Regions from separate parts of the Homo sapiens genome. Here all the other regions are linked to region 5. The links are contacts of gene promoters, found by promoter capture Hi-C in blood cells and fetal thymus (Javierre and others, 2016). All regions are on one chromosome and are shown on one strand. Each heading gives the region's core, a stretch centred on a gene start or on the middle of the fragment in contact. The rest is flanking DNA. Distances are from core to core; before and after follow the strand shown. Region 1 overlaps BMP3 (bone morphogenetic protein 3). Region 2 has its middle 31 kb from the start of BMP3. Region 3 has its middle 37 kb from the start of BMP3. Region 4 has its middle 130 kb from the start of RASGEF1B. Region 5 holds the start of PAQR3 (progestin and adipoQ receptor family member 3).

The links. Contacts are between HindIII fragments. The CHiCAGO score rates a contact against its expected background, and 5 or more counts as called.
Region 1: a fragment that was not itself captured here is called in contact with the fragment with the promoter of PAQR3 in region 5 in 1 of 17 cell types (M2 macrophages); the score reaches 5.7 in M2 macrophages.
Region 2: a contact is called between a fragment that was not itself captured here and the fragment with the promoter of PAQR3 in region 5, in 5 of 17 cell types (M2 macrophages, naive CD8 T cells, M0 macrophages and 2 more). The highest score is 13.3, in M2 macrophages.
Region 3: a fragment that was not itself captured here is called in contact with the fragment with the promoter of PAQR3 in region 5 in 1 of 17 cell types (M2 macrophages); the score reaches 6.2 in M2 macrophages.
Region 4: a contact is called between a fragment that was not itself captured here and the fragment with the promoter of PAQR3 in region 5, in 1 of 17 cell types (neutrophils). The highest score is 5.8, in neutrophils.

The regions. Positions count from the first base shown.
Region 1 is chr4:81,041,454-81,046,949 of GRCh38, forward strand. It overlaps BMP3 (bone morphogenetic protein 3), which reads left to right. Exons shown (of 3, transcript NM_001201.5): 2 at 4,285-5,195. Among named protein-coding and RNA genes, the nearest start is that of BMP3, 13 kb to the left of the region's middle. The HindIII fragment of the contact is 4,463 bases long and covers 277-4,739 here.
Region 2 is chr4:81,058,981-81,065,028 of GRCh38, forward strand. No RefSeq gene overlaps it. Among named protein-coding and RNA genes, the nearest start is that of BMP3, 31 kb to the left of the region's middle. The HindIII fragment of the contact is 2,350 bases long and covers 1,123-3,472 here.
Region 3 is chr4:80,991,148-80,997,132 of GRCh38, forward strand. No RefSeq gene overlaps it. Among named protein-coding and RNA genes, the nearest start is that of BMP3, 37 kb to the right of the region's middle. The HindIII fragment of the contact is 2,867 bases long and covers 2,718-5,584 here.
Region 4 is chr4:81,342,498-81,348,380 of GRCh38, forward strand. No RefSeq gene overlaps it. Among named protein-coding and RNA genes, the nearest start is that of RASGEF1B, 130 kb to the right of the region's middle. The HindIII fragment of the contact is 3,101 bases long and covers 1,201-4,301 here.
Region 5 is chr4:78,935,625-78,941,118 of GRCh38, forward strand. It overlaps PAQR3 (progestin and adipoQ receptor family member 3), which reads right to left and starts at 3,814. Exons shown (of 6, transcript NM_001040202.2): 1 at 3,416-3,814. The coding sequence starts at 3,600. RefSeq lists silencers at 3,344-3,413, 3,504-3,993. The HindIII fragment of the contact is 16,646 bases long and covers 1-5,494 here.

The sequences.
Region 1 (5,496 bases), core at 1,258-3,757, 2.1 Mb after region 5:
GCTTCTTGGTTTTTTTTAAACCCAGGAGGGAGAGGACCTAGAACAGGCAGAGATCCCTAGCCTAGGTGGAAATAACAAGAGCAAACACATCAAGTGTTGGGCATAACATAATGCCTTTGGTTAGCCTTCAGATTGGCCATTCCTTGCTCAACTTGGATGACTTAGACATTCACTAGAACTTCAATTCTATAGAACTACTAGAACTTCAATAACTAAGTTAATTGTAAGTATTTTTATATTTTCTATTTAAAACATTGGCAACATTTCTTTTGCAAAAGCTTCCAGACATACAGCATTGCATACTGCTAGAATGTGTTCCTTCCATCCCCTCACCAAGATTTCTTTCTTCCTTCATCTTTAAAAGTCTGGTCCAAAGATTACTTCCTACCTGTGTGTTTCTTTGCCTCTACCTGGGTAAAGTTAATGGCTCCCAATTCTGCTCCAAGCATAGCTAACACCTTCGGCAGCTTGTATTATCATCATGGCATAGTCTTTTTTTTTTCCTTTCCATTTTGACTACAAAACTAGTGATTATTCTAGACCACAACCATCCAATAGAGATATAAGGGGAGCCACAAATGTTAGTCACATATGTAATTTAAAAATTTTAGTAGCCACATTTCAAAGTGTGAAAAGCAACAAGTGAGATTAATTTTAATAATATATTTAATGCAATATAGTTCAATAAAGTCACTTTAACACACACTGGCTTAATATAAAATGTATTGCTACGATATCTTATATTCATTTTCTTACCAAGTCTTCAAAATTCAGTATGTATTTTATACTTACAGCACATCTCAATTTGAATGTAAGTGGCTACATACTATCATACTGGAAACCACAGTTCTAGTTAGCTAACATTTATTGAATACTTTCTGTGTGCTTTATGTGCCTTCTCTCAATTAATCCTCGCAACAACTCTATAGTTGCTACTACTAGACCCACTTTATAGATAAGCACACCAAAACTTAAAGAGCTTAGGTTATTTGTCTGAGGGCTGCTATTGGTTGTAGTGAAATTGCAACTGGACCAACAGGCTTTGACTTCATAAGAAAGCACTGGTTTAAAATGAGAGCCATTGGAAGAGGCAGTAAGACAGATTCTGAGACTTTTACAAAACGATGTTGTAGATTAGACACAGAGGTAGAGGCTAATTAACAGCAGGTCACAAGGTGACTAGAAGGAAACATGTTTGAAAGAAGAAAATATTTTGAAGCAAAATGTGGGGCAAAGGGCAGGATTGGTTTACCCATTAAGTTACTGCCACTCATATCCCTTGGAGATCATTTATTCCCTGCCAGCATGTTTGTTTGGCAACCATTGGATTGCCACATACCTAGAACAGAGTGGCTTCTCTTCCTTCCACTTTAAACTTCTAGCTACTACACGAAATTTGGGTAAAAGTATATGCTCCGGTGACTGGTATGAATTAAGGCTCAAGTCTCTGAACAGTCCTGATGCCATGGCTTTGTTATAAAGGTCTGTAAAATATTATCCTGGTGTCATGGATTATACAAATGTGCACCAATGGCAGTTTCCTCCTTTTCCTTCACACAGTGTTAAAAATGAATAGAATATGTTTCCCATTGCACTTCCCTTGTGCTTGGGGACTCAATGAACTCATTTTAAGTTTCCACATCTTTATAAAAATGTTTTGTTTTTACTGAAACATGTTTTTGATCAAGAACATAATTTCACGATTGCGTGTGTGTTTCTGAAACAAATATGTATATGAAACAAGTGCATGGAGAAGGGCTTAGGCTCTGGTGACTGATCCCAGGATGGGAGATTCCAGAGTTCTAACCTCAGTCCTGTGGATCTCGGTTTATGAGCTAAAGGAGAGGAATCAAATTCTGCACCTATTAATAAATCTCTCATTCTCTTCTTCTCTCTCATTTCTGGATTTGAAGAATTGGAAGTATGGGTGAACAATTTTAATCATTTTTGTTGCACTATATAGAAAGTTAACTCTTAAATTTATGGAATGTCATAAACTTCAAACAAGCTCCACAACAGCATTCTTTTTTTTTCTTTTTTGACATTTTTGCAGTATGCCTTATTTTTTCAGATGTATTATTTGAATATTGAGATGCGTTGGATCCTGCTTACCCAATGCTTATCAAGCATACTACAATTTTTTTTTTTTTTTGAGACAGCGTCTCACTCTGTTGCCCAGGCTGGTGTGCAGTAGTGTCATCTCGGCTCACTGCAACCTCCACCTCCCAGACTCAAGCGATTCTCCTGCCTCAGCCTCCCGAGTAGCTGGGATTACAGGTGTGTGCCACTACCGCCTTGCTAATTTTTGTATTTTTAGTAGAGACAGGGTTTCACTATGGTGGCCAGGCTGGTCTTGAACTCCTGACCTCAAATGATCCACCTGCCTTGGCCTCCCAAAGTGCTGGCATAACAGTCATGAGCCACTGCACCTGGCCTCATCCTACATTTTTTGAAGTAGGTAGAAGAAGATGTAATCCCTGTAAGACTGTTAATACCAGAACTAATAACAATAATAATTGATATTTAAGAAACACTTCACAGACACTTTATGGACTGCTTTATACATGTCTCATTTAATTCTGATGACATGGGAGGTAGATATTGTCTCATTTTGTGAATGAGAATATTAGCTTGTATAATGTTGTGAAGTTGGTAAGTGGCTGAGCGAGTACTCGAATCAAGGTGAGTGTAATTCCAAACCCTGTGTTTGTAGCCCGTAGGCTATACGTGCCTCAGATAAAAAGCTATTACAATACATTGCCAAATTTGTAGGAATAAGTCTTGACAATCCTCCATAACTCTGAGCTTTCACCCCTTTAAGTTTATTTCTCCGTTAAAATTTTCACACATTTATGGTGCTTCAGTAAAGGAAAGAGCAAAGTAATTAAAATGGCTGATCCTTGCTAACCTTTTTTTGTCTTTTAAAATTATTCCTGTTTATTACTCTCTTTTTATTCCACTTCCAGGAAGCCTCCAAAGCAAGAGACTGCATAATTGTTTTGCTTTGTTTTAATTGAGGTGAAATTCACATAGTATAAATTTAACTAATTTTAAGTAAACAATATAATGACAGTTAATACCCTCACAATGTTGTGCTATCACCAAGTCTATATAGTTCCAAAATATTTCCACAATTTTAAAACAAAACCCTGTAACCATTAAGGAGTTTCTTTTCATTAGCCCCTCCCTTTGGCTTCTGGCAAACACCGATCTGATTCTGTCTCTATGGATTTTACTATTCTGGATATTCCATATAAATGGAATCAAACAATATGTGATCTTCCATGTCTTGCTTTCATTTAGCATAGTTTTTTCAAGGTTCATCCACATTGTAGCATGTGTCAGTACTTCATTCTTTTTCATGGAAGAATAATATTTGATTGTATGGGTATACCACAATTTCTTTATCCATTCATCCATTGGTAGTCATTTGAGCTGTTCTAACTTTTGGCTATTGTGACTAGTGCTGCTATAACCATGTAATTATTTGAGTGCCTGTTTCAATTCTTTGGCGTGTATACATAGGAGAGCAATTGCGGAATCATAATAATTCTATGTTTAACTTTTTGAGGAACTGCCAAAGAGTATTCCACAGCAGGTGAACCATTTTGCATTCCCACCAGCAATTTGAGAGTGTTCCAATTTCTCCACCTTCTCAGTAACCTTCTGGGTTTTTTCGTTTATTTGTTATAGTCATCCTAGTGTGTATCAAGTAGTACTTCACTGTGATTTTGATTGTGTTTCCCTGATGGCTAATGATGTTGAGCATCTTGTCATGTGCTTCTTGGCCATTTATATATCTTCTTTGAAGAAATGTCTATTCAAGGCATTTTCCCATTTTTATTTGGTTTCTTGGTCTGTTTATTGCTGAGTTGTAACTGTTATTTATATGTTCTGGATACTAGATTTATCAAATGTATGATTTGCAATTATTTTATCTTATTATGGAAGTTGTCTTTTCACTTTCTTGACAATGTCTTTTGATATACAAAAGTTTTTAATTTTAATGAAGTCCAGTTTATTTTATAAATTTACCGATTTTATTGATGTATCTACTTTTTCTTTTATTGCTTACACTTATGGTGTCATATCTAAGAATGGCTTCATATCTAAGAAGTCATTGCCAAATTCAAAGTCATGAAGATTTACCCCTAGGTTTCTTTCCAAAAATTTCATGGATTTAGTTCTTATATATAGGTTTCTGATTCATTTTGAGTTAATTGTCATATAGTGAAGTAATGGTCTTGTTTTCTCCTGTTTACTCTCTTTCTTTTTCCTTCCTAGAAACTCTTGAAAGAAAAGGACTGTATATCTTCAATCTGACATCGCTAACCAAGTCTGAAAACATTTTGTCTGCCACACTGTATTTCTGTATTGGAGAGCTAGGAAACATCAGCCTGAGTTGTCCAGTGTCTGGAGGATGCTCCCATCATGCTCAGAGGAAACACATTCAGATTGATCTTTCTGCATGGACCCTCAAATTCAGCAGAAACCAAAGTCAACTCCTTGGCCATCTGTCAGTGGATATGGCCAAATCTCATCGAGATATTATGTCCTGGCTGTCTAAAGATATCACTCAACTCTTGAGGAAGGCCAAAGAAAATGAAGAGTTCCTCATAGGATTTAACATTACGTCCAAGGGACGCCAGCTGCCAAAGAGGAGGTTACCTTTTCCAGAGCCTTATATCTTGGTATATGCCAATGATGCCGCCATTTCTGAGCCAGAAAGTGTGGTATCAAGCTTACAGGGACACCGGAATTTTCCCACTGGAACTGTTCCCAAATGGGATAGCCACATCAGAGCTGCCCTTTCCATTGAGCGGAGGAAGAAGCGCTCTACTGGGGTCTTGCTGCCTCTGCAGAACAACGAGCTTCCTGGGGCAGAATACCAGTATAAAAAGGATGAGGTGTGGGAGGAGAGAAAGCCTTACAAGACCCTTCAGGCTCAGGCCCCTGAAAAGAGTAAGAATAAAAAGAAACAGAGAAAGGGGCCTCATCGGAAGAGCCAGACGCTCCAATTTGATGAGCAGACCCTGAAAAAGGCAAGGAGAAAGCAGTGGATTGAACCTCGGAATTGCGCCAGGAGATACCTCAAGGTAGACTTTGCAGATATTGGCTGGAGTGAATGGATTATCTCCCCCAAGTCCTTTGATGCCTATTATTGCTCTGGAGCATGCCAGTTCCCCATGCCAAAGGTAGCCATTGTTCTCTGTCCTGTACTTACTTCCTATTTCCATTAGTAGAAAGACACATTGACTAAGTTAGTGTGCATATAGGGGGTTTGTGTAAGTGTTTGTGTTTCCATTTGCAAAATCCATTGGGACCCTTATTTACTACATTCTAAACCATAATAGGTAATATGGTTATTCTTGGTTTCTCTTTAATGGTTGTTAAAGTCATATGAAGTCAGTATTGGTATAAAGAAGGATATGAGAAAAAAACATGTGTGAAACATACTTGTTGTGTTGCTTCTCAACATGGTGCATATTCAGCCAC
Region 2 (6,048 bases), core at 1,048-3,547, 2.1 Mb after region 5:
GAATACTTTCAAAAGAGTTGCCTCAGTTCTCATGCCAGAGGATTGTCTTGAAATACCACTTAGAATTGATCTTTGTAGCTATTAGAAGGTATGGTGGGAATTAAGGTTAAGAATAAGAACGTTGAGCACACATCCACTTAGTATTACCAAGGATTGCTCACATCATACAAAACTCTATTTTAGTGGGTAGAGATGTGCTTGATGATATAAAGCATTAATGCCTACATTGTCTGCAGTCTCAGAACTGGAAGTTAGCTATATGTAACTATTAACAAGTGAATATCAACCAGTAAAATGAAAATATATTCACATAGGAAAAGCACAATGTTACAGAGTTATATATATTTACATCCACAACATACAAAATGTGAGAACCCCGTGAGCCTTCCCTTCATACTCTTTTGTTCACAAAAAGTGGATGTTCTCACAATATGATATTTAAATTTTAATTTGGGTTATATTTGTTTTTTTCAATTGCATTTGAAGCAACATCAGAATCTATGGCAATGCTAAGCTCTGGGCTTGAGCACTTTCCTAAGTTCCTTCACCTCTTACATGTCCTAATTTTCTCCAGGTGGTGGTTAAAAATTCCTTTTTGCTCTAGTATACCAGAATCCATGAGTCAAACATCCATATTAAATCACAACTTATAAATATTTTTCTCCTGATCATGTCTTGGGAAAAAAAGCAACAACAAAAGTCACGATGGAAGGGAAAGAGAGAACACAAGAAAGGACCAGGGTAATAGATCATCCGTCCCTCAACTTAGGAGATTGTTGATTCTATCTCACTTCTATCATGTGATGGGGTTTGTGAGACTCTTCTACTTTTCATACCTACATTTTATTTACAGCATTCTTCCTCTTACTTTAATAATAAAAAGTAGGTGATATTATTTGTCTTACTATATTTTAACAAATAACTAAGGCATCTAATACCTTAACGAAAAACAAAGCCAAATGAATTGTAGAAAATAGACTAAAATATTATATATGTGTATTTCTGGTATATGAAAGTTTATTTTTATGCATATTGTATTTCATAGATACAGGCTTACAGGCAGACAATTTACGTTAGAATCTCAACTCTGTCACTTACTGTAGGACCTTGGACAAGTTATTAAGCTTCTTTCTGTTTCCATGTCCTCATGTGTAAAATGAGAACAAAACACAGAGCCTGCCTTACAGGGCTGTGAAAATTACTTGAGCCTTTATACATGAAACACTTATAAATGTTCATAGCACAAAGTAAATATTCTTCGAAATTTGCTTTTTGATTTTTTTAAATGCATTTTATACACTTCCATGAATGAGTCCTCATTTGACCCTGAGAAGTATTGGTGCGTATTATCCTCACTTTACTGACCCAGGAGAATAACTGACACACCTTAGGTCAGAACCATGCTAGTAGCATCAGGGCTGGGATTCCAGCAGCGATAATCTCACCCCAATTGTCCTATTCTTTTGCACTTCACCTCAGTTGCCTCTACTTAAAGAAAGCTGCCAGAGTAATTTCACCCATCTTTCCTTGGAGTCCTGAGAAATTTGAGGAAAATAGACTATCGCATCATAAAGAAAGCAAAAAAAAGTTTTAATAATGGGGTAATGTTTGATTAGTGTTGGGATCTGAGAACTTTCCCCTGAGTTGAACTTCCCCACCCAATTTCAGGTCAACCCGGGTGGTACAGAGATGGTCTCAGTGAGTTGAATTTTTGGAAAATGGAAAAATGTGCATTTTGAGTAAATAAATTCTGAAAAAGGGAAAGTCAAAGTGAGGCTGAACTGTGTACTCTCAGTTCCCATTTCTTCTCATCGTCAATCAGATATGTCTCTCCCCTTAAAGAGAAAGGATAGGGACAAGAGCAGAAAATATTACTTCAACACCGTTTCCACCCAGAGAGTACAAAGGAATTCCTGTTCCTGTCTAAGGAGAATAGAGGTAGTATACTAATAAGAGCCTCCCCTTCATCTCCACAATGCCACTAAACAGGAAATTCTGGCCTTCCCTACACGCCAAAAGAACAACAGCACAGGTGACTTAAACTTTAAATCTTAACATGGCCCCACTAAAAATATGAACCAATGGTCAAACCACCAGCTTTTACCCTGTCATCGGTAGGATCATTGCTCCTTCTCCCATGGGGAAGAGCCATGAGAGGAGGAAGAAAAAAACAAGAAGTATCTCCCAGCACTGTTTTCTCTTAGCCAGTGGGGTGGAAGTTGAGCGCCCTTTAGAGGAAAATGAGAAATGGGGTAAAAGTGACTTGCCTAACATATCTTGTGATATGAACTGTCTCTTATCTTTTTAAAATTAAAATAAACATAAGTTATGAAACTTAAGCAAACACTATATACAGTAATCATTTTAGGTAGTTGGGATTTGTTTTATTTTCATTTTTTGGTATGAATTTCCCTGCCTTGTGTACCATGCCTATTTTCTCTAGGTCCATCAGAGGATGTGGAAAGAAAATCCATCTTTGGTTTGCTTCAAGTCCAAGGCCATAGTTGTCTGAGTATTTGAGATACCTCCCATAGAGAAAGAGAACTCTATTTTGCAAGACAGTTGGAGGCTACTCTGTTGATAATTAACAAGGTCAGAATACCTGAGAAGCATTATTTTTACCCTGCCTGCTCAATTTTAGTTGGTGGCAACTTGATTTGAGTTTATTCCTCATTTCTTTTTGTTTCATCAAAATACTGCCTTGAGGGCAATAAAAAAAATCCAATCCCAGAAAATGTTAAATCAGAGAGTAGCAGGTGTTTTCTTCCCCTTATTCCCTTGATCCCAGCCCTATACTCAGACACACACACCGCATACACACACACATACACACACATGTCCTAGAAAAAGTTAAATCAGCGGGTAGCAGGTGTTTCTTCCTCATGTTCCCTTCATTCCAACCTGCTCACAACTGGGAACTGGGGATGGGGGAAGGAGGGAGGAAGAAAGGGAAAGAAACCGAGAGAGAAATGCCTAGCTCTACTAGAACATCACAGAAGCAGGGAGAGAAATATGGTCATGATCCAACCCTTTGCTCAAAATATTATGCTGAACCTTTTCAGATTCAGCACATAGGCAAACTACCACCAAGTTGCAATGAAAACCAACCCCCACTTCATGGGGGCTCAGGCCAGATGTGAATGCAGCAGTCCAGAGGTGAGGCAATTATGTGCAAGAATCATGTGAAAGAGCATTCCCCAAAACGAACTCACTTAAGGAAAACATTTGGTGTTTACAGGACTTCAGCCCTGTTTTCTGGAGATTTTCCATCACTATAAACACTGACATATACACACATGAACATAAGTGGGTTTTTTAAAATGGGCCTAGAATATGTGATTTCACTAAATTATCTCATTTATTAGAAATGAAAAAATTAATGGTATAATATCAAAAATTTGGCAGCTGAAACAGTCACATAGACAAATACTGAATGGAAGCCAGTGCCCATAGGCTGGTGATAATACATGGAAGCTTGGAACTGTTAGTAATCTTCAGATGATTTTGTAATGCAGAGGTAGATGACCTGCCTAGCTAGGGAGTGTGTGTGTCAAAACCGGCCCCTTGGAGCTCTGCTTTCTGCTTCATTTGATTTGAAAGCCACCTTCTAACACATCCAAGGAATAGCAGCATATTATAAAGAGAGGCTTCAGGTGTGATAGGATAGGCTGAGAGCATTTCAAAGTCCCTTTGCTTCTAATGTCATCAGCAGTTCCCATTTCTTCTTTCACAGTGTAATGGGGTAGACTTTAAATTCTATCCCACTTGAACTAGTTACAGAACTGAGATCTATAATTTAACATTAGATGAATGAGATTTCTGTCTTGTAGCAAGCAGACTCCTCTGCAACATTTTTTTGAACTGCCTATGAGAAAATAACCTCAAGCTTTGAGAATAAGGAAGAAATCGTCTAAACATGAGTATATTGATTTAGATTAAAATGTCATATTTTACTTACATAAAAAATCTTAAAGAATCTTGGACTTTGTTAGTATTATTTCTTTTGCAGCTTTCTGGAATAAAATTCGAATTTGAGAGAAGGCTCAGTAGCCTCTAGAATGGTTGTCAGGCACATATAGATGATGGCCTACAAATCTGAATTGGTATACAAAGTAAAACTAAAGAAAGTTTTAAAAATGGAATGATTAAAGCTACTTATTGATCAAGTATTTTTTGAATTCTTTTGTTTACTGAATTTATGGAAAAATGACGAAGCCAAATCCTAGACTTTCATAATTGATGAAAAGTAATTATTTGGACTATAAAACCTCTTACTTAAAAAATAATGTTTGCTTTGAACCACTGGGAATTTGAAGAGTGTTACCATGACCATCATCAGAGACAAGAGGTCCCGAATAGTAATTTGTCTATTAATTGACATAAATAGCAGTGGCTGACAGTGGAAAGACTCTGAATAAAAGCAATTGTTCAGTAGTTTGAATGACAGGCAGACTGGAATTTCATTTTGGCCTAAGATTTAAAGGTCTAGCAAAAAATTAAACCACTCAGAAAAATTCCCTTAGTAGACGAAAGAGTTGGGAGAGTGTGAATCTGAGGCTGTGCTAAACCACAGCCACTAGCCATAGGTGGCTATTTAACTTTAAATTAATTAAAATTGAATAAAATTTTAAAATTCAGTTTCTCAGTCCAACTAATCACATTTTAAGTGCTCAATAGCCACGTGTGACTAATGGTTACCTTTACTGGATCAGCTAGATGTCAAACATTTCCATTACCACAGACAGTTCTCTTGGATGGCGTGGATCTACTAAGGGATAAATAGGAAACAGATAGATTTTGACCCTTCAGAAAAAAATGTTGCCTGTTGTGTTTCCCTCAACTGAATAAGAGACACTGTCAAATAGGGAGATACTTGGTCAGAAAAGCACTAAAGGACTCAGTGTCCTCATGGCTGACTAAAAATTGAAAAATAATTACAAATTTATAACTCATATTTCTTTGAGAGTATATACTAATCACTCCCTGACATATAAGTTCCCTCAGGTCATTTCTTCTGGTATTCAGTCCAGTATTTACTCAACTGAGATTTACATTACAGATATTAATTACCATTCAAACACAGCTGTGCTACTTATGCCAGCATTACACTATGAAGAAAGCTTTCCTAACACATCTTTCCTTTCATTCTAAACAACGTATTTTGATGACATTAAATCTGCCCACAGTTATTTCTAATTCAGTCATTCAGGTCCACTTTTGCAAGAAACTGATCTTTCGCTCTTTCTGAACATTTAGAATCTAGGTAGATATGCAGGTAGGTAGATGATAGATAGATAGATAGATGGATAGATAGATAGACAGATAGACAGATGATAGATGGAAGGATAGATAGATAGATAAGGTCAAACAGTATTAAACTATTTTAACCTTTTCATCAACTATTTCAATTTCTGTTTGACAATAACTCAGTTTAATAATTCTCCTATACAGGCAAATCACTTCACAAATCAAAATCATTTACAGCCATGTACAATGTCATAGAGAAACATCACAATTACTTTAAAGAGGTTTGATTTAAATTGTATCATATATTTATATATTCTAAAATGTAAAATTTTCCCCCAAATTTCTTATCAGTCTACCTTCCTTTGAGATAATAAATGTTCATAGCACAAAGTAAACATTCTTTGAGATAAGTAGATTGTTATTAAAATAAGTAATAAACATTTAAAGATGATTATGTCAGAAAGGTCACCATTTTCAAGGCTAACGTAGGAAGTTGTGGGTATAAACTGGACAAAAGCAGTCAGTTTTAGCCTCTCCAGCTACTTCTCTGTTTGATAAATGTTTGACTGGAAAAGCTTCAGTTTTAAAGGGGAAATATTTAGTCTCTATTGCTCACAGAATATACTTGCTTTCCGTATTCTGAAGAACTTGTGTTCCTCTAAAACAGTTAAAAAAAATTTTTTTTTAGCCTTTCAAGGTACAGAAGTTTCTGCCAACTGACCAGAAGTGCTAATGTCTCTGGCACTTACAATGGAACTCACAGATCATATGCATGAAATATATCTTAGTTATGTTTTTCAA
Region 3 (5,985 bases), core at 2,901-5,400, 2.1 Mb after region 5:
TCCCCCAAAGGCCCAAGCACCAGCTGTCAATGACCTCTGCCCCTTCAAAGAGAGAGACTGGGTGGCCGCTTTCACCCTGTCAAGATGTGCTAATTACTGGAATGCTGAGAATCAGAGCCTGCATCCTACAATGGTATTTCTATAGCTTGTCCACCTCCTACACATCTTTCTCCTCTTGTTCTTAAATCTTTTAAATATACAACAGCTTACATCAATTTCTCTATAGATTGTTGGCATCTTTTCTATCCAGTTATATGTTCTCAGCTCCCATATTTTATATTTTATATTTTATAAAAGGATCTTGTATACTTTATATTTTGTCAAATTATTTAAAATTTCCCTTTCTTTAGGCAAGGCAATCTTCAATTAAAAATCCCTTCATTTAAGAGCAATTTGGAAAGAGAGAAAAGCCCTCTTGATATCTACTCTATGCCAGAGGCATGTCCATCCATAGACATGGCTTGATCTAATTATCATCATAAACCTAGAAGAGAACATTATTATTCACAGTTGCCAGGTATGGAAACTGAGGCTAAGGGAGGCTGATACTCTTTATATATGACTCTGCAATCCTTCCTCTCCCAATTCGTAGTTTACACTGCCTAATTATTCTTCCTAAAATGTACCTCTGATTATTTCATACTCTAGCATCCTTTTCTTGTCTGGTAAAGGAAGTACAAACTCCTCTGTTGGCCTTTTAAGGTGTAGTCTTTGTCTGCTCTTCCAACTGTGCCTCAAACTTCTCACTGACACAAAGCTTTTCAGCTATATCCCAGGTTTCTGCCCTTTCTCTAGCAATTCGGTCCTCTCTGACCCATCTGTCTTACTCTTTAGTCTTGCCCTTCTCACAGGGATATCTTAGCATATTCCGCAGATCAGCACATAGATCATCTTCCTCACGAAAACTTTCTTCCACCTTTAATATGTGTGAAAACTATTATAATTTTTGCATTGAACTTTTAACTCTTAACACTGTTCATTAAAGATAATATTGAACAATCTAGGCTCACACTGAAAATCATCATCAAAATGCAATATAATAATTATCTTCATGGGACACTGTACTAGACATCATGTAAGAAAAATTCAAGAAAAGTGACGGAACTTCTGAATTCTTCAGAGTAGTGTCAAAAGATAGAGAGAAAAAAAGAACTGAGCCAGATAAAATATCATAAAGTACAGAGATTGTAATATGAAATTGAGTTTCTAAGTAAAATTTTATTGTCATTTGTTTTATTTTATTTAAAAGCATAAAAATCAAAGGTTTTCAGATGCAAATATTCTATAGGGATGGCTGAAGTAAGGAAAATATATACTGCATCCCTACAATTGGCAAAATCCTACTTATTATCTCATTTCATACATAAGCAAAGAGGTAATAAATGTTTAATAACAATCTCTGAAAAGAAAAAAAACCCTGATTTGAAGTCTTTGCCAATTTCTGTAGTGTAAATATTTTCACTACTAATATTTCTATTTAAAGCTACGAATGTGGCATCTCTGATCATGGAGTTAGAAGAGATGTTCACACCTGCCTCTCACACTCTGGTACAACGTCCCTCAAGCACACTTCTATAAAAACTAATTATTTTCCCTATTAAGCAGATTAAGGAAGTGAGAATCAGAGACGTTTTATAACTTGCACAAGATCACACAGTCAATATACAGAAAAGAGGTGATTTTAGTCTGCTATGTAAGATTACAGATTCCACTCTTTTTGGCTAGAGCGCACGCCTGATCTCTATCAGCAAGTTACTGAATTAAGCAAATTGAACATAGACATCCCTCAATACCCTCTTGTTTCTACCAGGAGTAGAGAAACAGAACAACAAGGAATAATCACATAGTGGACAGGGCCTCAATAAAAGACTTCAATGGGGAAGAAATCTCTAGTAGCATAGAGTGTTGATTCTCAGGAACATAAAACAAAAGATGAGCATAAATTGAGCTTTTGCCTTTTCTCATGAGCTTCCTCTATTTACCTAAGCCTCTTACTTTTATAGAAACCCATTACTTTCTGTTGGCTCTTAACCTAGCCACACAATGAATTTCTCCTTATAGTCAGTATTTTTCCTCCCTCTCTCCCTATTTCCTTTCCTTCCTTTTTTCTACATTCGTTTTTTCCTTCTTCCCTTTCCTTTTTTCTTGTTTCTTTCTGCTGATACCATTTTATTGTTGTTCTTTAATTATCAAGGGTCAGAAATACATATACTATTTCCCAATGTTACACACCCAACATAACTCATCCGGAATTGTCAGGAAGGTAGTTAGCTCCAATAGAATATTAAAAAGTGGTCACAGGTCAGGCATGGTGGCTCATGCCTGTAATCCCAGTGTTTTAGGAGCCCAACACCAACACAGGAAGATTGCTTGAGGCCGAGAGTTTGAGACCAGCCGGGGCAATGTAAAAAGACACTGTCTTGACAAAAAGAAAAAAAAAGTGATCACAGAATCAGGGTCTACTAATTAAGTACATAAATATGTATTGTGAGGGTCAAATAGATTTATCCAGAGGAATATAAAACACTCCTATTAAAAGTTTGGAATGCAAAATTAACTTCTGGGATAAAAAGCTGAATTTTGGTTTTCTCTGTGTACAAACCAAGGTTAAAGTGTAAATGTTTCTGCACATAACTCAGATTCCAATATCATACAGAGGAAGAAGAATAAGTACTATAAAGAGTGGACAAAGTACACTTCCTCTTATTCCCATAATAAGCTTGCCCAATACATTGTTAAAAATGAAATTAATTTCTAACTTAGCCTTTATAATAAGAAGGATCAAGACCAATTCTATGGTAGTTGACATTGCATATCAAGTAAAATATAAAACAACTCATGACGAAAAGAGCTGCTCCAGTTAAAATAAATGAGGGTTTTAAAAAGTCACATACTCAAGAGTCACTTTGTAGCCCTTAGTTTTTTTGTCTAAAGTATTCCCAGGAGCAGATTGGTCCTTCTCCCACCCACCAGCACCCTCTCTCATCCCCCATTTTTCAAGTCATTTGTCAGCACACAGCGGTATCCAAGGTGCCTGGACTCTGTCAGGTTTTCATCTGGAAAGCAAAGCAAAGCCGTCTGAAGCCACTCACACATTGATCTCCTACCAGTGAACAGAATCCAACTTACATGAAACCTGCCACTCCTGAACCATGCTTACAATAGAGCACTCTGAGCAGCTGTGACCCCTCTATCTAGAGCACCATGTCAAAAATGCATAAAAGGAGTAACAGAAGAGAGAAGAAACAGAAATGGAGACCAGTTCATGAGCACCTCCAGGACTCAGTTTCTTTATCATTACGTTAGACAAGATCTGGTTCAGATTTTTTTTTATATATACTTTAAGTTTTAGGGTACATGTGCACAATGTGCAGGTTAGTTACATATGTATATATGTGCCATGCTGGTGTGCTGCACCCATTAACTCATCATTTAGCATTAGGTATATCTCCCAATGCTATCCCTCCCCCCTCCCCCCTCCCCACACCCCACAACAGTCCCCAGAGTGTGGTATTCCCCTTCCTGTGTCCATCTGTTCTCATTGTTCAATTCCCATCTATGAGTGAGAATATGCAGTGTTTGGTTTTTTGTTCTTGCGATAGTTTACTGAGAATGATGATTTCCAATTTCATCCATGTCCCTACAAAGGACATGAACTCATCATTTTTTATGGCTGCATAGTATTCCATGGTGTATATGTGCCACATTTTCTTAATCCAGTCTACCATTATTGGACATTTTGGTTGGTTCCAAGTCCTGGCTATTGTGAATAATGCCGCAATAAACATACATGTGCATGTGTCTTTATAGCAGCATGATTTATAGTCCTTTGGGTATATACCCAGTAATGGGATGGCTGGGTCAAATGGTATTTCTAGTTCTAGATCCCTGAGGAATCGCCACACTGACTTCCACAATGGTTGAACTAGTTTACAGTCCCACCAACAGTGTAAAAGTGTTCCTATTTCTCCACATCCTCTCTAGCACCTGTTGTTTCCTGACTTTTTAATGATTGCCATTCTAACTGGTGTGAGATGGTATCTCATTGTGGTTTTGATTTGCATTTCTCTGATGGCCAGTGATGATGAGCATTTTTTTCATGTGTCTTTTGGCTGCATAAATGTCTTCTTTTGAGAAGCACCTGTTCATATCCTTTGCCCACTTTTTGATGGGGTTGTTTGTTTTTTTCTTGTAAATTTGTTTGAGTTCAGTGTAGATTCTGGATATTAGCCCTTTGTCAGATGAGTAGGTTGCGAAAATTCTCTCCATTTTGTAGGTTGCCTGTTCACTCTGACGGTAGTTTCTTTTGCTGTGCAGAAGCTCTTTAGTTTAATTAGATCCCATTTGTCAATTTTGTCTTTTGTTGCCATTGCTTTTGGTGTTTTAGACATGAAGTCCTTGCCCATGCCTATGTCCTGAATGGTAATGCCCAGGTTTTCTTCTAGGGTTTTTATGGTTTTAGGTCTAACGTTTAAGTCTTTAATCCATCTTGAATTAATTTTTGTATAAGGTGTAAGGAAGGGATCCAGTTTCAGCTTTCTACATATGGCTAGCCAGTTTTCCCAGCACCATTTATTAAATAGGGAATCCTTTCCCTATTGCTTGTTTTTCTCAGGTTTCTCAAAGATCAGATAGTTGTAGATATGTGGCATTATTTCTGAGGTCTCTGTTCTGTTCCATTGATCTACATCTCTGTTTTGGTACCAGTACCATGCTGTTTTGGTTACTGTAGCCTTGTAGTATAGTTTGAAGTCAGGTAGCATGATGCCTCCAGCTTTGTTCTTTTGGCTTAGGATTGACTTGGCGATGCAGGCTCTTTTTTGGTTCCATATGAAGTTTAAAGTAGTTTTTTTCCAATTCTGTGAAGAAAGTCATTGGTTGCTTGATGGGGATGGCATTGAATCTATAAATTACCTTGGGCATTATGGCCATTTTCATGATATTGATTCTTGCTACCCATGAGCATGGAATGTTCTTCCATTTGTTTGTATCCTCATTTATTTCATTGAGCAGTGGTTTGTAGTTCTCCTTGAAGAGGTCCTTCACGTCCCTTGTAAGTTGGATTCCTAAGTATTTTATTCTCTTTGAAGCAATTGTGAATGGGAGTTCACTCATGATTTGGCTCTCTGTTTGTCTGTTATTGGTGTATAAGAATGCTTGTGATTTTTGTACATTGATTTTGTATCCTGAGACTTTGCTGAAGTTGCTTATCAGCTTAAGGAGATTTTGGGCTGAGACAATGGGGTTTTCAGATGATATTGAGGATCATTTTCAGCTCAAAACCTCTGTAACATAAATAAGCATCACAAGGCTGTGGTTTTCATTTTTAAAAGCTGCGTAAGATTCAGGGATTCAATAAAGAGAAGTATTTTAACTTTTCGGTAATTCGTCCCAGCCAGAAAAGAAGTGTGATGTATCAGTGTGTGCTTTGGAACTTTGCTTGGGCACCTTAGAAATTTTCTGAAACAAATAATATATGAAAAAGATCTCAAAAAAAATGCTACCAGTTTATGTGGCAGAAAAGGGACTTGCTGTCTATTTAGCACCCACTGTGGGTTAAGTGCTTTGAAGAAATTCCCAGAAAAGCTTCTGAAGCCTGCAGTCTCCTGGAGGAGTCATTATCTTCTATGGTCCAGTCGTGAATATTCATAGTTGTGAGCATTTTAGTAAGTGTTTCATTTCTCTTTTAAATGAATAGGCTCAGAGAGCCTACCACACTTTGATTAAATAATAACAGTAACTGCCACACAAAAACTGTGTTCAGCACTTTTCCTACAGTATGTTTTTTGATACTCATCAGAGCATCATATTCCCATCTTAAAAGGTGAGAAAAGTGAAGTTCAGAAATGTTGAGTCATTCACCCAAAATCATCCAGACTTTAGAAAGAGGCAGAGTTTGGTTTCAAAGGTAACTGATTATAATCCCAAAATATACAATCCCAAATGCTATAAACCTGAATGCTGAAATCCCAAATATGAAAATTT
Region 4 (5,883 bases), core at 1,501-4,000, 2.4 Mb after region 5:
ATCTCTTGTAGGCCTAGTCTGGTGATGATTAATTCCCTTAGCATTTGTTTGCCTGATAAATACTTTATTTCTCCTTCATTTATGAAACTTAGTTTAGCAGGATATGAAATTTTTGGCTGGCATTTTTTTTTCTTTACAAAGGCTAAAATTAGGCCCCCAATCTCTTCTGGTTTGTAAGGTTTCTGCTGAGAATTCTATTGTCAGTCTGATGGGATTTCCTTTACAGGTAATGTGATCCTTTTCTTCAGTGGCCTTTAAGATTTTTTCTTTTACATTGACCTTGGACAGTCAGATGACTATATGCTTGGGAATGGTTGTCTTTTATAGCATCTTGCAGGTATTTTCTGAATTTCTCGTATCTGAATGTTGATCAATCTAGCAAGATTAGGGACATTTTCCTGAAGTATTCCTTTGATTACATAATCCACATTTCTTACTTTTTCATCTTCTCTCTCAAAAATGTCAGTAAAGTGTAGGTTTGGTCACTTTACGTAATCCCCTATTTCTTGAGGGCTTTGTTCATTTTCTCAGTCTTTTTGTTTTTGTTAATGCAAAAGACTGGTCTTCAAGCTCTTAAATTGTTCCTTCTAGTCTTTATCTAGTCTATTGTTTAAAGCTTCCAATTGTATTTTGAAATTCCTGTAGTAAATTTTTCAATTCCAGATGGTTTATTTCATTTTTTCTTAATATAACTGTCTCATCTTTCATGTGCTGAGTCATTTTTCTGTTTTTTTTGTGTGTGTTGAATTTCAACTTTCTCTTGGATCTCATTCAGTTACTTTGAAATCCATATTTTGAATTCTTTGTCATTCTAGACTTTCAATTTAATTAAGATTCATTGCTAGAGAGATAGTGCAATCCTAGGTGTCAAGACACTCTGGCTTTTTGTATTGTCGGAGTTCTTGCACTGATTCTTTCCATCTGAGGGAGCTGCTCCTTCTTATTTTTGAATTTGCAATCATTTGGATGAGACTTCTAAATTTTTTTATTCTTTTTTTCCTTGAGGGTATGACCATGGAGTATGTTGTGTATGATTATTTGGCTTTGTTTGTGGGTACTTTCAGAGGCCTAAGGCTCTGTTTGGGTTCCTCGGTTGTGGATAGCTTCTGTGTGCTTTCTCAGATGCTGTTTGTTGTAGTTATGTATTGTATGAGCTTACACACTATCTCCCGCAGGGCTGAGGGTGTGGAGGATTCAAGAAGCTTATCTCTGGACTAGCACTAAGCCCTTCTGACAGCAGGATTTTTATTTGGTAGTGCAGTTCAGGCTTATTGAACTGAAGCAATATCCATGGCCCGCAGCCACATTGGAGGTGCTTAAGAGTAAAAGCCAGCTCATCCTCAGGTGGGCTGATGAAGATTGAAAACAGCCTGCTCTGATCCATCTTGAATTAATTTTTATATAAGGTGTAAGGAAGGGATCCAGTTTCAGCTTTCTACATAAGGCTAGCCAGTTTTCCCAGCACCATTCATTAAATAGGGAATCCTTTCCCCATTTCTTGTTTTTGTCAGGTTTGTCAAAGATCAGATGGTTGTAGTTCTGTGCTATTATATCTGAGGGCTCTATTGTGTTCCATTGTCTATATCTCTGATTTGGTACCAGTACCATGATGTTTTGGTTACTGTAACCTTGTAGTATAGTTTGAAGTCAGGTAGCATGATGCTTAAATGTTAGACCTAAAACCATAAAAACCCTAGAAGAAAACTTAGGCAATACCATTCAGGACATAGGCATGAGTAAGGACTTCATGTCTAAAACACCAAAAGCAATGGCAACAAAAGCCAAAATTGACAAATAGGATCTAATTAAACTAAAGAGCTTCTGCACAGCAAAAGAAACTACCATCAGAGTGAACAGGCAACCTACAGAATGGGAGAAAATTTTTACAATCTACCCATCTGACAAAGGGCTAACATCCAGAATCTACAAAGAACTTAAACAAACTTACAAGAAAAAATCAAACAACCCCCTCAAAAAGTGGGAAAAGGATATGAGCAGACACTTCTCAAAAGAAGACATTTATGCAGCCAACAGACATATGAAAAAATGCTCATCATCACTGGCCATCAGAGAAATGCAAATCAAAACCACAACGAGATAACATCTCACACCAGTTAGAATGGCAATCAGTAAAAAGTCAGGAAACAACAGGTGCTGGAGAGGATGTGGAGAAATAGGAACACTTTTACACTGTTGGTGGGACCATAAACTAGTTCAACCATTGTGGAAGACAGTGTGGCAATTCCTCAAGGATCTAGAACTAGAAATACCATTTGATCCAGCCATCCCATTACTGGGTATGTACCCAAAGGATTATAAATCATGCTGCTATAAAGACACATGCACATGTATGTTTACTGCGGCACTATTCACAATAGCAAAGACTTGGAACCAACCCAAATGTCCATCAATGATAGACTGGATTAAGAAAATGTGACACATATACACTATGGAATACTATGCAGCCATAAAGAAGGATGAGTTCATGTCCTTTGTAGGGACATGGATGAAGCTCGAAACCATCATTCTGAGCAAACTATCACAAGGACAGAAAACCAAACACCCCATGTTCTCACTCATAGGTGGGAATTGAACAATAAGAACACATGGACACAGGGTGGGGAACATCACACAGTGGGGCCTGTCATGGGGTGGGGGTAGGGGGGAGGGATACGATTAGGAGAAATACCTAATGTAAATGACGAGTTAATGAGTGCAGCACACCAACATGGCACATGTATACGTATGTAACAAACCTGCATGTTGTGCACATGTACCCTAGAACTTAAAGTATAATAAAAAAAATAAAAAATAAAAAAATAAAAATAATTAAATAAAAAAGAATACACCTTCTCTGATGCAGGGTAGTGGGGTAGGAAGAGATTGTGTTGAGGTGTGCCAAGGTCTTGGAGGAAGGAGCAGGAGGGATTCACCAGCTCCTCATCCAGAGCAGGCAGGAATGCAACCCACTTCCCTATCATGCTCCTGTCAGAGGACTTATGAACTTCAATTCATAAAGACTGTGACCTTTGATTCCTGACCACAGTGTGACTGCAGGACACGGATATGCCCCTCTGATGGCTACCGCCAAAATGAGTTGAAGAGGCTTTGCCCCTTCCCGCAGTCCAGTGCAGGCAGCTCCATAATTTTTCTGTCCTCTGTTGCCAAGACATTGCCGCTCTGCAAAGGGAGGAGTAGCTGGGTCCAGTCCTTTGGCATCCAAGTGGCATAGGGTCAATTTCAGTGGGGGGTGGAGCTGGCATGAAAAGCACAAAAAATGCTTTCTCCGCATGTCCACACACTCACCCCCAGTGAGAAGAGCTACTGCTGTGTCTGCAACAGAGGACGGGAGTGGGGCAGTGGGCAGGACAAGTCCCCCTCTCCACTTCCATTTCCAGGCATCAGTGCTGTCCCCTTCATTGATTGCCATCACACCTCTGTTTCCTTTGTCCCAAGGGAGGCCCTGGTGGGCTGTACTCCCCCCTCCCTTAGGGGGGCCCATGCAGACCATTAGATTTCCAGGGATTCTGCAGTTTCCTGGGGACCCACTGTCCCCTGTGCTTGCCAAAGTCCAAGCAGGTTGTTAGGTATGGTGGCGTGGCGACTCGACGGCAGAGAATCCCTGGCCAGGGCGGTGGCCCACTATGGTGCACAACCAGTATGGCACCTGCTGTCTCAGTTCAGGTATGAGAGAGTGTGGGCACACCTACACGAGCTGGCCACCCAGGTCTCTGTCCCTGGAAAGTTCCCAAATTGCCACTAACAGCATTGCTCAGGGTCACCAGGGGAGAGGGGCTCCCCAACAGTTGGTGGTCAGCAGATTGTCAGAGGGGTGAGGGAAGCAGAGAAGCACTCCCACCTACTCTTTCTGCAGGGCTCCACATTCCTCAGGGGCTGATCTCTGCCGTATTCTTGCTGCTTTCCTTTTCTGCAGCCCAGCTTCTTCCTTTGTGCTCTCTGACACGTTCTGGTTCTCTTCCCTCAGTTTTCCATTTGAAACTTGTCCATTCACCAGTAACTTTGATCTTCTTTCCGAGTAGAACTGGCACCTGATGTCACTAAGTCAGCCATCTTGAAAAAAACACATTAGTTTCTTTAATAGTTTTTACCCCGTACCTTTTGCATAATCTCCTGACATTTGATTATCAGAAAGAGTATTTTTCAAAGTACATGGGCCATAAACTTGCGAGTTACCTGAATAAGTTGTTATTCTGGTTATTATTACTGTTTAACAAACCAGACCAAAACTCAGTGGCTTAAAACAAGAGTCATTCATTCATCAATCTGGGCAGGGATTGGTAAGCTTGGCTTATCTCTGCTCCACATAGTCAGCAGGTGCTGCTTGAAGGTGATTAACATCCAGGGGCTGGAATCCTCAGCAGGCCCACTCTCTCACTCATGTGTCTTGGGCTTGTTGCTGGGTGTTAGCTGGGTGGTTGGCCGGAACCTACATAGGGCCTCACCATATGGCTGCTTGGCTTCCTTATAGCACTGTGGCTTGGTTCCAACAATAAGTATCCCAAGAGACAAAAGGTGGAACCTACTGTTCAAATTCTAGGCCCAGAAACCTGCACAGCATCCCTTCCACTATATTCTCTTGGTTAAAGAGTGACTTTACCCAGAGTCAAGGAGAGGAGACAGAATCCAGCTCTCCATACAAGGAGCATCAACGAATTTGGGGACCAGGTTTTAAAACTGATACACTTATTTAAAATGCAAATACTTGGGTTTTACACCTTAGACCTATTAATCTGTTTTTCTGAGGCTTGTGGCTGGAAATGTAGTTTTAATAAATAATCTTAAATTTTTCTTAGACCAAAATTTGATTTACATATCATCTTAGAACCTCCTATTTAACATAAAAGTTTCATCTTCCCTATATTTAATTGCTTTAGCCAAGAGTGTCTTGTGATATCCCACAATCACCATGTTCTGTTTGAGGGGAGGGGATAGTGCCAAGTAGTTTATTCTGAACTTGAATTCCTCCCACACTACATACAGAGCAGAGCACAGGAAAATGTGGGAGACACTGAGCAAGTGAAGGGTTAATAATTCTGAAGTCATCACGATATGCATCCAGTAAGAAGCTGCATTCTGATTTAAAAAAAAAACAAAAAAGCTTCCACTGATGTTTATCTGCAGTACCCCTCACTTTTGAGATGTGTTTCCTTTCCATATGAAGGTTAAAGAGGGGGAATTATTTCAGTCGGGGTGTATGTTAGTGGGGTTCCCTTGAGAAGCAGACCCCGAAATAAGAACTGAATACACATAGTTTATTTGGGAGATCCAGGGACAGACGAGATGGAGAAAATAAGGCAGTCAATACAGGCACATTATTAAGCCAGCTACCTTCAGTGGGCAGCTGGAGTTTAATCCAACTGGGAAGCTCTGGGAAATGGAATAAAACACACACATCCAAGTTATCCTGCTAAGGGGAAGCAGAGCTGGGGTATTCATATTCCTACCCTCTTAAGTAATCTGTAATGATGCTCCTAGGGGATAGGTAATTCCTAGGTATTTCAATTGGCAAAGTGGATCCCAGCAGCCCAAGAGCAGGTATTGGCCATTGTAAACGCGGCTGGTGTGCATGGAAATGGTTAGAGATCTAAGAGGATCTAAGCAGAACACATCCACAAAATGTCAGAAGATCCAACATCAGCGCTCTGGCTTCACTGAAACAAGTCAGACCAAGGACTCTGACGTATCCAATGTTCTAACTGGTTCTTTAACCTGCTCAACATCACAAAGCTGAGTAAATGCTAGAACTGGCATATAAACCTAGGCCAGTCTGCTTCTAAATGCTTTTAGGTGTCATTACCCTCAAAAGGGTAAAGGTCTGCTTTGATTACTCTCTGTTCTGTTATTTTAGATTATACATGGAAC
Region 5 (5,494 bases), core at 2,564-5,063:
CAATGCCTTGCTCAGATTAGTCTATAGACTAAAGGTCTCCAGAAATGAACGTGCAGAGGAAATCTGGATGTTAACTAGCACACTCTATCAATAATACGTATCTGAAAACCTGCTCAGTGCAAGGTTAGGCATCATCTTAAAATACTTTCCTAGAGCTCATTAAATACAAATGCAAAATTAAATGGATTTAAGAGAAGCAAAATAAATATATATTGATCCATTGGAAAGGTTCTTTAAGATAGGCATGCCAGAACAACTTTGCCGTGGATGTTTTAAAACTAGTCTAGTTTCCAGGTGGCATAAGTTTCTCCTTTTCACAAACAACTGGACTTAACTTTTAATATGGGTACTACGTGCTCTCTTTCAAAATGCCCTGGGCTAACTGGACTTGGCAGCACAGGTTGCTAGAGCGTGTACCACCCTGAGTCAAGAGGCTCACTGTCCCCACCCTACACAAGTCACTTAACCTCTCCCGGCTTCAGTTTCTTCATCTATACAGTAATGGAGCTTCATTAGATGCTGCTGCAACTTTCTTCTAGCTCCTTTCTTACTTTTGTGAAATGGTTCTCCAGATGTAGATAGGACTCATCTGATTATTTACTGAAAGGTGACATCATGACTAAAGATTAAAATACTCTTGCATTTGTCTGCAAAATCTCGTATTTTTGCTTAAATTTAGGTTTTTGGTCTTCACTGATTCAGAAATCCTTGACATAATGACATTGACATATAACTCTAAATTTGTAGCAGTCACTGTGGTTCTCAGGTTCTCATTTTTACAAGAAATGGAATTTCCTATTTGCTTTGCTTCTCAACTTCATTTCTTGTAACAATGAAAGTGAGAACCATAGTGACTGCTACAAATTTAGTTATACGTCAACGCTTACTAGTAAGGATTTCTGAATCAGTGAAGGCCAAATACATGATGTATATAGCAAGGTGTCAAAACTATCAAATGATCATCAAAAATAAAGTGAATCTTGGATCATGAATTTCAGGCTTTATCATGTACAAGCATCAAGTGTAAAGACTACTTATAACTGGAGGAAGGGATGCACGAATGTGCTTGAAACATCTAACTACAGGACTGTTTTGACAATCAGTACTATGCTCTGCTTATTACTTCAGAACTTTTCTTTTTGTGAAATCCAGTATAACCTGACTAACTGAACTGAGAGGCACCACCTCTCCATGTTCCCTGCAGCTAACAGAGGACTGGCAAAACTGCTATGACATACAAAACCTCCTCAGATTACATCCAAAATCTGTCCCCGTCACTCCTGAAAGCCAAAAGGAGAGAGGGCAAAGGCTAAACTTGGAAAAGATAAGGCTGGTGGGAAGGCAAGAACATCTCCAATAAAGAATCTACTCTTACTGTACGAAAAGTTAGGTGTCTCCTGCACAGTAGACACACCTGACAGCAGTATCTTAAGCATACCCTGAGAATGACCCTATATGAAAAACACACTTGAATGTGTGTTTACAATTCCAAGCACGGCCAACCCTTAGACTGATTCCTTATCTATGAGGAACATCTGAGCCCCTGTCCCATCTCATGGAATGCTGACTGTACATGGGATGGAGGCCTTTTGTTTTGCAAATGAAGATTACCAGATGGAGGTTGTTAGGGGGAAGGGTGCTAAGTAAAAATGCTATTTAAACTGCATGCTTTCTGCAGGCGGCAGAGGTTCTCCCGTTCAGGCCACTGTCACTGGACCTCTCTGTAAATTACCCTAGTAAAACCCTATGTCTTGTTTACTGGCTTTGGGTCTCTTCTTCCGTCTTTCGAACCTGGTGCCATCCTTATTGAAGTTAACAGGAGTCCAGCACCACATCTTCGTATTCTGTTCAGTTTTAAAATCAAATAATCATCTTCATTATCATCATCTGTTCAGCTTCACAACCACTGGTGATGACAACAATCACCATTTATTGACGGCTTATTAGGTTCCAGGCCATGTATAGCATTTCACACACAGAATCTTACTGAATCTTTTTTTACCTCTGGAAGCAGATACTGTGATTACCCTCATTTTTATATGTGGGTATAATGAGGCTCAGTGAGGTTACATTTTGCTCCAGGTCTCAGAGCTGTTAAGTGGCAGATTTGGATACTAAAGTCTTTGACTCAATAGCTCAAGAGCTAATGCTCTATACTTAATTTTCCACTCCATGAGATTTGGACCCTAACATCAGAACGCAGAAGACCACTGCTAGTTGAGTAGAAAATATTTAAGGCAATTCACTGCTTGCCCTATTCTTGTGGAACTCCAGATCCACAGCAGAACTCAGCTGTGTAATTTACTCATGCACAGGAGGCACTGGGGAGGAAAACGGTAATTACGCTTCAAGTTGTGAATCCTAAGGGCCATCCATTCAAGCCAAGTAGGGATGGGCAGTGATGTCACCTTGTGACCATGAGTCACAGAAACACTTTCATGGCAGGACAAAAGGAAAGAAGGGCAGGAAAAGACAATGCTGGAAAAATCAAGAATCAGACATGTGGTTGCCGCTTGAGCAATTCAACAGCCCACATTCTGGCACTAGGGTTTGCCACTACAGCGACCTGGAGCTAACCAACACCTGTATCTTAATTCTCCTGAAGCAGAGGTCCTGTATTTTAGTACAGGTAGTAAGTTTGGACAGTTACTCCAAGAACTAGAATAGTTATTTTTCAGTTTTGTTTTTTTAAAACACGGATTTTCAAGGGACTGTGGTTTTAAAGGTTTAAAATGATAAAGAAATTTCTTTCTTAGAGATGCTTCTGTGGTGCTCTAGTGGAGACTGGGTGCCCGTTATGAGCTCTCTTTACCACAGTACTTTTCCTACACAGCATTTTTTCCACAATGGTTATTATGTAATTGTGTAATTATCTATTTAATGTCTGTTACCCAGGCTACACCTTAGTAGCTTCATGAAAACAAGGGCCATGTTTGCTTTTTTTTCTGCATGGGCTCCATAAGTATTTGCCAAATGAATAAATCTCGGGTGTATATGTTAACTTGTTTCCTATTATACAGGCACTTATCTGGCCCAAAGCTACTGAATTCCCACAGTGTTGCTCTAAAAAGAAAGGTATACACCGGGCAAATATGGCTCAGCCCCATTTCAATATATATCTCAATGAGCCGAACAAACCGAATAAAGGATGTAAAAGCCCTTTGTAAAGAGCAAAGCGTCATAGGAGAGCTGTAATTATGATCACTGTTACTATCATGATTATTCCGTGGACCAAGTACCCCGGCCAGGTAAGGGGAGATAACGGGGGAGGAGAGGCGGCAAAAAGGGATGAAAAGGATGGGGCGGCGAGGAAATGATGGGCAAGCAGAAAGGCGGGGAAAGCAGAAGGGGGACCAGACAAAAAGGGTGTAGGTGAGAGAAGGGGGCACTCCAGGCGGAGGCAGCCAGACCGTACCTTTTGATACACAGCCTGGACGGCAGGTAGGCCCGGTAGCCGTCGGTGATGTACGGGTTGTCCTTGAGGGACCCGGGGATCTGCTCGTAGGTGTACAGGCGGATGCCACGGGGCACCAGGACCGGCCAGTACTGGTAGCTGCCCAGCTCGATGTAATGCGCGCTCTTCAGCAGCTTCTGATGCATCGTTCCCGGCCGCCGCCGCTCCCCGGCTCGGGAGCTCCCCCAGGTCCCGCCTCCCCGGGGAGGGGGCTTCGCCGCTGGCGCCCCCGCCCCGGAGCCCGCGGACGCTGCGCGAGGTCCTACCGCGCTGCCGCTGCTGCCCAGGGCCCGGCTCTGCGCTCACACCGGCCACTGCCGCCAGCGCCGCGGCGGACCCGGCAGCGTCGCAGCCTCCTCTGACGTCAGCGCGCCGCGGCGGCCCCGCCCCTCAGCCCTAGCTGGGAGGGGCAGGGTGCTGGGGCGCGCCCGGGTGTGCTCGAGCGTGCGCTGGCGGCGGCCCGGGCTCCCGGGCGTCTCTCACGCTGTGTTTTGGCGGCGCCTGGGGTCTTCGTTTGCATATGAGAAGAGCCGAAAGCACAGAGCTACAGGCGAATACAAGTGGATTTTTTTTCTTTTTCTGTTTTTTTATTAGAAGTAATAGTTGCTGCATTTTGAAAAATCAAGAGGAAAAGAGTTAACAGGAAGAAAAGTTCGAGGTAATTACCGTTTAGTTTATGCTTGGAATTACACACACTTAGTGTCAGAAGGGACTTTGAGGATTTCTAAGCTGAAGTCAGCTCTTAGCACGATAATTGGAAAGAGAGGAAACCTGATGCACGTGGAACATACACCAGCATCGAGCACATCCTGAGCCATAAAGGAAAGCCCCCGTGCATTCAAAACTCCGACCCCTTTCAGCGTTATGTTCTCTGATCACAGTAGAATTAAACTAGAGTAACAAGAAAACTAAAAGTCTCCACGTCTGGAATAGGAGCAATACACCAAATATTTCAAGGGCTGATGAAGAAATCACAATGGAAATGAGAATATCTACTTAACTGAATAATATAGAACATATTAAAAAATCCTGTGGAGTGCGGCTATAGTAGCGTTTACAGGAAGTGTTGCAGCTTTGTTTCTGGCTATTTACTGTAATGCAAGTGTTTACTTATAATGGCAACAGGGCAAAACATCAGTTTGAGTACCGTATGTGTATAATAGAACGCTTAGTCCATTGTTTGGCATTGTAAGGGCAAGAAAAATATCTTGTCCTCACTTATCACAAGGTTCACAGCTGACATTCCTATGAAAAAAATTAAGAGAAGCCAGGCGCAGGTGGCTCATGCCTGTAATCCCAACATTTTGGAAGGCCGAGGCAGGCGGATTGCTTATGCCCAGGAGTTGGAGACCAGCCTGGGTAACATAGTGAGACGCTGTCGCTACAAAAAAAACCAACCAAACAAACAAAAAACAAAAATTAGTCGGGTGTGGTGATGGGCGCCTGTAGTCCCAAACTATTCTGGGCTGAAGTGAGAGGGTTGCTTGAGCCTGGGAGGTCGAGGCTGCAGTGAGCCATGTTTGTGCCACTGCACTCCAGTCTGGGTGACAAAGCGAGACTTTGTCTCAAAAAATAAATAATAAAAATTAACAAGAAAAGGGATAATAAATTCATTTAACACAGTTTTATGTGACAGAGGAGTCTTCAGAAATGAAGACACAAAGACCCAGGAAAAAATGGGCTTTTTATGCTAAGTCTGATGAAAGGAGTGGATAGTTGTGGAGAAACATGATTGAAAGGGGGCATCATCTAATGATAATAAACTGAGGGGGGATCCTAGCTAGCAAGGCCAGTTCATTCAAATTCTTGGCCTCAGAGTATGGGGCAGGAACTCTCTAGAATGAGGGTTTTATGACCTAGTTTCAGGTGAGGTAAGTCAGAACTCCTTTGTGACCACGGAAAGGCAGGGACAGTCAGAAAGTAACCTTACTAGATTTTTTGTTGTTGTTGTTGTTGGGGGAAGACAGAGTCTCACTCTGAAGCCCAGGCTGGAGTGCAGTGGCACAATCTCGGGTCACGCAATCTCCACCTCCCGGGTAC